Linked DNA regions of Homo sapiens: region 1 is linked to region 2. The links are contacts of gene promoters, found by promoter capture Hi-C in blood cells and fetal thymus (Javierre and others, 2016). All regions are on one chromosome and are shown on one strand. The core of a region is centred on a gene start or on the middle of the fragment in contact, and the rest is flanking DNA. Distances in the headings are between cores, read along the strand shown. Region 1 has its middle 190 kb from the start of XIRP2. Region 2 holds the start of XIRP2 (xin actin binding repeat containing 2).

Region 1 (6,536 bases), core at 2,298-4,797, 190 kb before region 2:
AATATTGTTTCTAATATTTAAGTGGGGAGAGGATGATATTACTCCCAGAATCTCAGGGGGTGTAAACCGCCCCTATTATATTGCTCTCAATATCCATGGGGGGAGAGCATGATATTACTCCCAATATCGCAGGTGGTGTATAACCCTCTTGTTATATTGTTCCTAATATCCAGGTTGAAAGAGGATGATATCACTCAAAAAATCACAGGGAGTGTACACCCCTGCCTGTGATATTGTTCCTAATACCCCGGGAAAGAGGGGATGATATTACTCCCAAAAGCGCAGGACGTGTACACCACCTTTGTGATATTGTTCCTAATATCCATGGGGGGAGAGGGTGACATTACTCCCAATAGCGCAGAAGGTGTACACCCTCTCTGTGATATTGTTCCTAATTGTCAGGGGGCAAAAGTATGATATTACTCCCAATATCACAGGGGGTATACAACCCCACATGACATTGTTCCTAATGTCCAGCGGGGGAGTGGATGTTATTAATATGCATAATCGTAGGAAGCGTACACCATCCCCTGTGAAATTGTTGCTAATATCCAGCAGGGAAGAGAATGATATTACTCCCAATATTCCAGTGGTGTACACCCCACCTGTGATATTGTTTCTTATATCCATGGGGGAAAAGGATGATATCACTACCAATATCGAAGCGGGTGTACACTCCCTCTGTGATATCCGGGTTGGGAGAGGATGATATTACTCCCAATATCAGAGGTGATAAACACCCTCCTTGTGATACTGTTTTTAATATCCAGGGGGTGAGACAATGATATTACTCCCAATATTGCAGGTGGTGTACACCCCTCCCCACCCCGTGATATTGTTCCTCATATTCAGGGGACGAGAGGATATATTACTCCCAATACCGCAGGGGATACGGGGAATAATATCACCCCCCTCTCCCTCCCTGGATATTATGATCCACGATGGACACACGGTGTTTTTATATGCTAGCTCATCCAAAAAAGTACACAAGAACTTAATTTGAATGTGTGTAGATGATGTGTTTAATTTTGTTTTGAATTTTTCTTTCACAATAGAGTAGATTTTCAACAAATCCTAGTGTTCTTTTTACAAAGAAGATCTATATTTCAGGGTTTTGCAGTCTCTTCAAGACTAGTTTATTTTTACATAAACGAAAGACCCCCAAAATGTGAGCTTTAAGGATCAAAGATTCTCTAAATTGAGTGGCTCAGTTGAACTGTAGATGGCTCTGGATTATAGCTTAGAGAGACCTTTGTTCCCAAAGCAACAAAAGGCCTTTCGTATTTATTAGAGTTATTTGGTAAAGTGCAAAAGAATAATATAATTAATATTAATTACCAAACCTGACCTTATATATGTTCACTTTATGATTTTACACACACACACACACACACACACACACACACACACACACCATAGACAAAAGAACAAAAGTCTTTAAGTATTAATAATTCAACTTATTTTCCATATTGGATATTTTGTATTGGTGAAAATAAAATTAATTATATAGGATTGCCATTTAATTGAAAAAATATGAACCTTGAACTCACTTTGGTTTGGAAACTCTGTTCTGTTTTTACATTTTTGGTATGATTTAAGGCAAAGAGCCTACATTTTCTGAGCATGTATTTCTTGTCTGTAAAATGGAAGTGATAATCACGACCTATTAGTGTAGTCATGAGGAATAAGTAAAATCACAAATGTAAAGCATTGAGTCCTCTATTTGATATATAGGAACTGCTCAATAAACGGTAATTATATCAATGGGGTGATTTAATAATGTTTTCTTTCATTATTATCCTCTCCTAGGGAAAGCAATCTTGAACCTTGGGACAGCAATCTTGAACGTTGTTCCTGTTACAATCACACTTTTAAGGTTACACAGACAGCACACAAACAGCTGCTTCGTGCCTGTAATATCAGTTCCAACCCACTGGGCTTTTCAAAGAAATTGCTTTTATAAGCTAAACATGAGAGAAATAAATTTTCCCATCTTGATAACTCTGTTGGGGGTCTTATGACTTTGCTTCTTTTTTGTATTATACCATTTAGAATATTAAGGTCACTAAAAATCACTTCTTTTAGAGATACTATGACTTTCTATAACTGAATATTCCATTCTTCATGTAAAAATGAGTTGTAATAAAAGCTTTATTCTAATCATTTCAGTAGCACTGAGTATAGGGAAGTTCATCTAATGATATTTTATAATTATGATTCTCTAGGAAAAACATTCTGTACTACAACAAAACCATAAAGCTGGAAGTATTTTACCCTGTATATATGTGGGATATCAAAAAACTGTTGGCTATGTGACAAAACCTTATATGATGCCGCAAAGATTATAAACAACTTATTTCTAACAATTTTCCTGCAAGTTGTGCCTAAAAATAAACACATGAGTACATTTTGGAAATGTTAGAAGTATATAATATCTGCCCTATTTTATAACATGTTTCCAGAATTTAATAATATTAGGACAGAGGGAGAAATGTGCTGGAGGAGAGAAAGTGGGAGGTAATTTTTAAATATTTGCTCTAATATGTAAGAGACATGTTCATTGCCACCTTAATACTAATCAGTATACAAAAGGCAGCAGAACTGCAATGCACACTTGCAAACTATTGCAAACTTGAGCAATATTTCAGCAAAATAAATTTAGTTATTAAATACAAATACAGAATTACTAAATCAGATATAGACTTTTGTACAAGTGTGAGCTTGCACTAAAGGAAGAATAAAATGTTTTGTTTTATATTTCCTTTTTAAAAAATTTAGGTTTTTACTGTTTACTTTTAATATCAGACTCTGTATAAACTTATTTTATCCTTATAGCTGGAATTAAAGACCCAACTAGTGAGTTCACTATTAAATATTTTCCTATGACACCAGCAGAGGACAGCAGAACATAGACATTAATGCTAACCCTTAAACCTATTTTCTTTTATGTCAAGAGCAAAGTTGGAAAATGGCATACAATCTGATTTCGCTTAAGTGGGATGTATGTAGCAGATGACAGTTCTTTTTACAGGATGTTTATGATTAAATAGAAATAGTCTTGGAATCTCAAAAGACTAGATAACTCTGTCAATACAAACTGAGCAGCCGCCACTACCTTATTTTATGTTCTTTGAATTTATAAATGAAAAGGTCACTCAAGTTGTTTTTCAATGAATGTATGGCCTATTGAGTAAATAATCTATGATTTAAATTGACTAGATTAAGAAAGGTAGGAGAGAAAGACAGACATGAGAGTTGTGAATAGAGCAATATAAGCCTTGCCTTTTTTTTAAGGGCTTCTCTGCTCTTACTCAATGTCCTATGCCTTCATCTTTCTGCCTCTCGCAGACATTAACCAATGTAATATCCATCATTCTGCCTTTCTAGAAAAGTTAAATTGGGACAATCCCAACACATTCTAGAATTCTTCAGGTGAAGATGTATGACTTTGCTCCTTAAGAACAAAAGAATCAATCAGTTAAGTATAATCAGCAAACTTTGTAGTATTGTTTTAATGGAAAAAGAAGTTCATTAACACATTGATTATTTTGTGTTATAAGCAATTTACTAGCTATTTCTCCCTCTCTAACTGAGATAATATGTTCATTATCTGAAGGAATTTTATTTACTATTTAAAATAAGTATTGAAAAAGCTAATGGCCATAGGGAATGAAACTATTTTCTCCTGTTATTGGTATCAACAGGGACATCTAGTTTTTAGAGCTGAGAAGAAAGTGAAAATATACCTAGGTGTATTCTCTTCTTTTAATCCACTCATCAAACCACTGAGGGTAACAAAAAGTATGGTTATAATTATTTTGCGAATGGAGACTTTCTTTTAAGCTCTTCAGCTCGTGGGAAGTCCTCATGTCTGCTGGGGAATTTTGGAGACAAAGAACTACAGGATGTTTTTCTCTTCAACAATAGTTTCTATTAACCTGATGTTTGGCACAGAGGGCTGTAATTATGATCCCACTGATATCAGCCACCCATCAAAAATAAAGGAAAGATCTTTTGGCTCAAGCAACAAAAGGCTGAAGACGGAGGTTTTTGTACCTGATGATGTAACTGTGCAAGAATTGTGAGAAAGTATGTTGATATTGTGCTGTCCTCCTAGCTGTCTATTTGTGATGTTACTCAACTCAGCAATACCTAGTAAGTATGTACTATGGTCCTAGTAATGCATTAGGGATTTCAGGTATACAGGCATTAGACAAGTCACCTGCCCTTCAGAAGCCTTGTGGAGAGGAGGTTTCCACTGACAAAAATACAATTTAAATGCTAACTTGAAGTGACTCCTGTCAGAAAGGAAGTGTGATTTAGACATTAAATGATTCTGCTTGATGCCTAGAAGAGGAAAGAAAATTCCTCAGGCATAGAAACACATAAGATAGTATTCTACCTTGTCGCCTGTTGTAATTTACATATCTTAAGCTGGTTAAATACAAATACTCATCACTTTATACACATTCTGGCATTCTGATGAGTAGGCTCTTCTACTTTTCTCATTTTGTAAATAAGGCAATCAGAATGTTTTCAGATTAAGTGATTAGTCTAGGGCCAAAAGTGTTAAGAGTTAGGAACAGTGTTTGAATATATACTCTTTGAACTTTTTGTGTCTTGTTGAGCACAGAGTTATGGGAACCACTTCACAAACCTTCAATAATTACTATAGTAGTGGTTTTATTAAATATCCACTAAGATAAAAAATTATTTCTGCTAATTTAAAAAATCTTTCCTATTTAGGATGAGATGTTAGAGAACACCCAGAGAATAACAAAAGCAGACTAGGTTCTCCATGAACTACAACCATGCTGAAATAACACGAAGTAAGTAACTATCAAATTTGAAACTGAATGATTCCAAGCAACGCATCTTTGCAGTAAGTATTCATCATCAATGCTAAAACTATATCAGTGCTGCCAGTTTTTACCCTGTGAATCTGGAAGCTTTTCCAGGACAGACATAATGCCTTATAAAACCCTTAGTACCCTATACAATGTGATTATCTGCTAATAGGAAAGGGTTAACTTATCTAACTGATCATCTACAGGCTGGCCTCCCAGAAAAGGAGCTGGCCTCCTTGCAAAATTCCATGAAACTGGCTACGGCTGGTGCTTAGGGCAATTAACCAAGGTCAAGGGCTGTTACTTCACCACATATGATTGGTAATGTGCTTAATTTCTCCTCTACCTGCCACAATATAAAACTGCAACCACAAAATTAGGACCCAACCCCTGATCCCCCCATAGCTGAGCTGGCAGGACAGAACTAGAGCCAAAATTCTGTCACTTCATAGTGATATTGTAGCATGGTCCTTGAGCAAAGTGGGAGAGGGGTCATTGATTTTTCTTTCTTTTTTTTTTTATTATTATACTTTAAGTTTTAGGGTACATGTGCACAATGTGCAAGTTAGTTACATATGTATACATGTGCCATGCTGGTGCGCTGCACCCACTAACTCATCATCTAGCATTAGGTATATCTCCCAATGCTATCCGACCCCCCTCCCCCTACCCCACAACAGTCCCCAGAGTGGGATGTTCTCCTTCCTGTATCCATGTGTTCTCATTGTTCATTTCCCACCTATGAGTGAGAATATGCAGTGTTTGGTTTTTTGTTCTTGTGATAGTTTACTGAGAAAGATGATTTCCAATTTCATCCATGTCCCTACAAAGGACATGAACTCATCATTTTTTATGGCTGCATAGTATTCCATGGTGTATATGTGCCACATTTTCTTAATCCAATCTATCATTGTTGGACATTTGGGTTGGTTCCAAGTCTTTGCTATTGTGAATAGTGCCGCAATAAACATACGTGTGCATGTGTCTTTATAGCAGCATGATTTATAGTCCTTTGGGTATATACCCAGTAATGGGATGGCTGGGTCAAATGGTATTTCTAGTTCTAGATCCCTGAGGAATGGCCACACTGACTTCCACAATGGTTGAACTAGTTTCCAGTCCCACCAACAGTGTAAAAGTGTTCCTATTTCTCCACATCCTCTCCAGCACCTGTTGTTTCCTGACTTTTTAATGATTGCCATTCTAACTGGTGTGAGATGGTATCTCATTGTGGTTTTGATTTGCATTTCTCTGATGGCCAGTGATGATGAGCATTTTTTCATGTGTTTTTTGGCTGCATAAATGTCTTCTTTTGAGAAGTGTCTGTTCATTTCCTTCACCCACTTTTTGATGGGGTTCTTTGTTTTTTTCTTGTAAATTTGTTGGAGTTCATTGTAGATTCTGGATATTAGCCCTTTGTCAGATGAGTAGGTTGTGAAAATTTTCTCCCATTTTGTAGGTTGCCTGTTCACTCTGATGGTAGTTTCTTTTGCCGTGCAGAAGCTCTTTAGTTTAATTAGATCCCATTTGTCAATTTTGGCTTTTGTTGCCATTGCTTTTGGTGTTTTGGACATGAAGTCCTTGCCCATGCCTATGTCCTGAATGGTAATGCCTAGGTTTTCTTCTAGGGTTTTTATGGTTTTAGGTCTAAAATTGAAGTCTTTAATCCATCTTGAATTGATTTTTGTA
Region 2 (5,737 bases), core at 2,972-5,471:
TCTAAAGTAGATATTCTAAGGGAGTCAGGGGTCAATAGTAAGAAGTCTGTAAAGTATAGTCAAGCTGCAGAAAATATTAAGGCATTCTTAGCCATTTTGAATACTATCTCTGTCACTAATCCTGTGAACTTGAACGGGTCATTTTCCCTTTATGACCTGGACAATGTGAGATTTTGATTCAGGGCTTCCATTAAAATCACTAATGCTAAAATTCTGTTTCAAAGGCTGTTACTCAGCCATTAGTCACCGTGATTGCCTTACTGATTTTTAAAATATCAAAAATAATTTTGAAATTCTTTGTAAATGTCCTCCTTGTGACTCCGAAACTTTCCCAAGATATAGTCAATGCTTCCAGGATGCTGCTTTAATACTAGGATTATGTCCATCTGATACTAGTTGTTAAATATTCAGAATATCACTCTGGGCTATTGCAATCTACTTAACAGTTAGTTAGAAAGCAATCCTAGTAAAAACATGGCATTAGCAATAAAGACTTCAATAGGACTTCAATATATCTTATTTTCCTAAGAATCTGTACTTGCCACTGCAATTGCTGTATACTCCCAAACAATCTGGTATCAAATGTTTATTTTCCAAATTTTTTTAAAACCTTTTCCCTTATGTTCAGTTAAAGTCAATTGATTTTGGCCCCATGTAAAATATGCAGGAGATCACAAATGAATCAAAATATTAACTGTCTTTTAACATTTCTCAGTCTATTAAAGGAATAGAAATAAGCAATTTATAAAGTGCTGAGAGAATACATGACTAATTCTGGTTGTTGATGGTGAACAGGTTAGAACTATGATGACTAGAAGAATTAAAAGCATTTATATTAGGGTACATTTGTGGATGGTTTGCTTGAATAGAAAAAGAAAATTTAAGAGACCCATTAGAATTTTATTCAAATATTTAAAGATTGTTTGTTCATGTGGAAGAAGGATTAGACTTGTTTTATATGGCCTCAAGGCTTAGAACAGGCTCAAAGGGAAAATTACAGAGATATTTTGGGTTTAATGCAAGAAATATAATTTTTCAAATGAGAGCTTATTCAAAACCCTTGCTTTGGACTTCCACAACTCCTCTGCCAAGCCTTTCAACAATGAATTATAGTCAGAAATTAATTCACTGGAATGTCACACCAAAATATAAGGTCCTGGGGAATAAAAGACTGCATGGGATTTAATTCAATAACTAGTGACTTTTTTCCCAGTTGATTTTGGATCTCATGTGTGTCAAGTTGATGAATTAATAAATACAAGTGAGTCTCTTACAATAATGTGCCAACCCAGTCTGGAGGGCCCATCCACATGTGTATTGTAGGAGAAGTCTAAGCATCTAATAATTGTTGAGACTAGATGATTTAGCACAGCCCAACAGAAATAAGTGTTGTTAAGACGCAATTCCCTAAAAGGTCCTGGTTGACATTCAGTGCATTAGAATCTGAACTTCAGCAACCAGGTAGGTTTACCCAGATCAGATATGTATAACAACACCTGGAGAAAGTTTTTAATTTAAGTCCTAATAAAGATACCAAAGCCTAGCTGAGAATGAATAAACAAATATTCAAGAACAACTACTTGCTATGGATTTATTATGTAGTCAAATATAAATACTATAGTTAGGCTCCAGTATAAACTTGCTGTCTGTGTCTTCATGGGAATGGGCAAAATATCTCACCCCCATCAAATTGAATGGTTGGTGCACTTCTTTATTCTTTAGAGTGGGCCTAGTGCAACTTCTCAAGCCTACTCAGGTGGCAACTAAAAATTAGAGTTGGCACATGAGATGAAAATTATTTTCAAGCTCTTGTCTAAGGAAATACTTTATTGTTGATATAGTGTCTACTACCCTTTCTTTGAAATCTCACTATCTTCATCTGTCTCCCACTGTTACAAGCTTCTAGGATGGGATGATAATGTACTGAAATCAGGTTATTTATCATTATTTCCAAATACTTTGAATATCTGCTAAAGGGATTCCTCAAAATTCACTTTAAAATCAATTATTATTTTTACTAAGTGGTTTATTATTTTAATGCACACACAGATTTCTGGTTTTCTGCTTAGGAACTATACCAATGTTTCTTAAAAATGTCACTCTCTTATTTGTCCATGCTGTTTTCATTTTGTTAAACGAGTCATTTTGTTAAATGAGTCTTTGGAGATGAGAGGGATACATTAACCTTTTCTTGTGGGAAAAACATTTGGACTCAGAAGTAAAAATGGATCCCTCACTGGTCAGAAGCATTGACTCAAAGGCATGCCTCATTTCATGCCATTCATCTTCACTCTCCTGGGCCTCCAAACCCCAAATGTGCCAACAGTAGTCCCATCGCAACATTATGTGGGCATTACAGTTCTACACATCCTTTTCTGTTGGGGATCTTGCTTTTTTAAAAAAACAGAAGTAGCAAAATGATGCTGATTCTTACTTGGTTTCTCATAATTACCGATAATATTTTGTTTAAAATAGTGAGAATCAGCCCTGCCACAACTTGGTCTTGAATGCTCTCATCTTTATATCTAACCAGTCACCTTACATGTTCAATATTCCAGCTGAGTATCACTTCCAGATATGTTCAGCATAGTTATTCAATAGGAGTACTTAATAAAGACAAAATGTCACCCAAACTGTATTTTCTCTCTGTGTTATGTGGAATTTGCCTGACTTTGGTCAGGATATATTTTGTCTATCCAGTTCTCTGTGTCTACTGTTTTTGTCACTCTGTCGTGGAAGGAAATTAAGTTGATTTGACAGGATTTATTTTTCACAGTGCCAAGGAGATTTTACCCAGTAACTCATGATTTTCTAGGTGCTTGAAAATTGATTTTTTGATGATATGTTTCAGTAAGTTTTCAACTAAATACTGATGCTGACAGGTCTGTAATTTCTAAAGTTATCTGTTTTTTAATCTTCCCAGAGTAGAAACAAGAAACACACCAAGATAAGTACTGCATTTAGTCTTTTTAATATAGCAGAATGTCTAAGTCCTTTTTAAGTTCATAGATGTTGAGCTAATTGTTCTTTATTGACTTTGGCAAACTCTTGGAAAAATAATTAAGTCACCAGAATTTGCAGTTCAAAATGTGACCAGTTTATAACATTAGCCTTGTAGTCGAACCTTTATATCACACCCTGTATCGTCTCCAAATACCATATCATAACTGCCCTATATTTTAAGCTTTCAAACAAGATTTCTGAAACCTACAGTTTGAATACTGGCTAAGCACTGCAGTTATTTATATAATTTATGGTCATTTTTATATATGAAAATTCATTGATTAAAGTTGTAAGATTTAATTTATTATATTAAAATGCATTTCTGCTATTGAATTCCTTTATGCAAAAAAATCAACATTGTCTTTAGTAGTATATCACTGAACCCCTTATATATAAAAACCCCAGTTTGGAACAAAGAGCTATTAGATGACCAAATAAGAATCAAATTAGACTCTGCAATTAGAGTCTGCGAAGAGAAAGACTTTACTTATTTGAAATAGTATATAGCTTACTATATGTAAAATAAAATAAAATTATCTCAGAAGCTGTGGTCTCCTATAATTTGTAGAAGATGATAACTGATATCGCTAAGCACTTTTTGGTTGCAAATAACTATACTTAAATACTGCTAATAAAAGCTGACATCCGCTGATCACTTGCTTCATACCAAGCACTATCCTAAGTTCTTTATGAGCGTGATTTCATTTATTTTGTTCATCTCACAACAGTATAGTTAGAACATACTATTATCATCCCAATTTTCAAGTGAGGAAACTAATGTTTGGATATATTAAATAATGCATCTAATGTCATATACTAGTGTTTGAGTAGGAATTTGAAGCCATTTGGTTTGAATCTGGACTCTATGTTCATGATCATTATCCAAAATTCTCAGGTGTCCCAACCCCTCACAAATGACTTTGAATTAAATATTAGGTTTATTTTTATATGTATGGAACCTGACGCACAGTGATAATTAAAGTGTAGCTCAGCCATAGAGTGAGCCATTGGTCACTATGGGTCTTTGGGTTAAAACATACCTTTAAGAATATGTAGGAAAAAAATGATAATAGCTAACTCAGCAGCATTCATTAATTCATCTGCAGCAGATTAACTTGTTCCAAAATAATGAGATAATCTGATTCTGATGGAACATGGAGCAGACAAATTCTTCTAGAACCCGACCTGTTTCTATGTGGGTGTATCCAGGAAGTCAGGATTATTTGGAGAAATCTGGCAGGTCTCTAGGCAGACAAAAGGGAACATCTGGTAGGGACTGGGACATGTAGAAAAAAGGTAAGATTTTCCTAAGAAAAACCACTTCTTTCATAATTTTTTCTACACATACATGCTTCTCTTTGATAGTTTCTGACAGGACACTATTTTGCCTCTCTCTCCCTATTTCTTTTAAGTAATATACATTAAATTAGCATAGAATCACAGCATCATCAACAAATTCAGGCTAGCGCTTAGTGACAGACACTGCTGCTAGAATCTCTAGTTATTCATTTGTTTTTCTAACTAAGAAACAATTTAATCTGGGGCAGCAATGTGCCCAGAGAAAAAATAGTTAATCTCTCAGACTCAAAACACGTAAGTTTGGCTATATATTATATTTTTGGACACTGAAAGATAGTCAGGGACTTCTGGGGAAGAAATTTAACAAAAACAGCATCACCCAAAGAAAGCATCTGGGCAATTCTCCTTTCTTCCTTCGTTCCATTGAGTCAGGTCAGAGAGGACTCGCCAGGGACAAAGCCATGACCCTCAGGGACCCAAGGGCATGAGCCTGCAGCTGACAGCCCCATTCTGAATAAGCATTCAGGCACACAGACCAGGGTGGTTGTTGCAAACCCCTCAGCAGCTGCCTCCTGGCACAACCACCCACTAACATGTGATCTAGCAGACAAATGGAAGCTCTTCTTACCCCACTTCTTAGGCACTCCAACAAGGGTTCTGAATTCTAAAAACAGCAAAAAACATTCAAATTGTTACATATGAAATGCTTTCCTGCACCTTTCTATCTCAGAGATGACAGCTGTCCCTCCTCCACTCTCTCCCCACTCGCCCCCAGACACCTCCCTAAACAATTTCTGTGCCAAGATGAAGAGGATGTCCCAGGCCATGGGGCTTCTGGCCTTGAAGGGCTGCTGCAGTGGAGCCAGGGCACAGGGTAGGTGAGACACAGCAGAGGTTCTGGCCCAGGTCCCTGGCCTCTCCTCCTGCAGGTGGCGTTTATTTATTCAAGGGGAGCAACCATGTTCATTTTCCCAACAATGTGGCACCATATTTTGCTTTCCTCTCCACTTCCTTCTTCCTTGCAGCCTTCTCCCACTGTTTCCAGATGATCACCAGCCAGGCAAGGCCCACCTTGGCTTGCTCTGTCTCTCCTGCTAGTGCATTTTCTCCTTAAAAGCTCCTTTAGCCTGTCCAGATCCACTTGTTTGACCTTTCTGGTTGTCTATCCTACCTGCTTGGGGTTCTTGATGTTGATGAGTCCTTCCATGCCTTTGTGCTTTTGCTGGTAGTCATTTTCTTCATTTTCATTCTCTCATAAGTCTAGATTTCTTCCCCTTTTTGGGGTAAGCCCCATCTCCACCTTCTTCTCCTTGTTATTCTTCTCCATAGCAAGCAATCCTCAAGCAGGTATTGAATTAATGAATGGTGTTGTGTCTTCTCCAGTTCATTAATATTTCTGTTGATGTAGCTAAGTTTTATTTACTTTTTAGTTTTA

Evidence for each region. Contacts are between HindIII fragments. The CHiCAGO score rates a contact against its expected background, and 5 or more counts as called.
Region 1: a fragment that was not itself captured here is called in contact with the fragment with the promoter of XIRP2 in region 2 in 2 of 17 cell types (non-activated CD4 T cells and naive CD4 T cells); the score reaches 5.4 in non-activated CD4 T cells.

Annotation. Positions count from the first base shown.
Region 1 is chr2:166,697,369-166,703,904 of GRCh38, forward strand. No RefSeq gene overlaps it. Among named protein-coding and RNA genes, the nearest start is that of XIRP2, 190 kb to the right of the region's middle. The HindIII fragment of the contact is 2,800 bases long and covers 2,148-4,947 here.
Region 2 is chr2:166,884,259-166,889,995 of GRCh38, forward strand. It overlaps XIRP2 (xin actin binding repeat containing 2), which reads left to right and starts at 4,222. Exons shown (of 11, transcript NM_152381.6): 1 at 4,222-4,299. The HindIII fragment of the contact is 3,763 bases long and covers 3,183-5,737 here.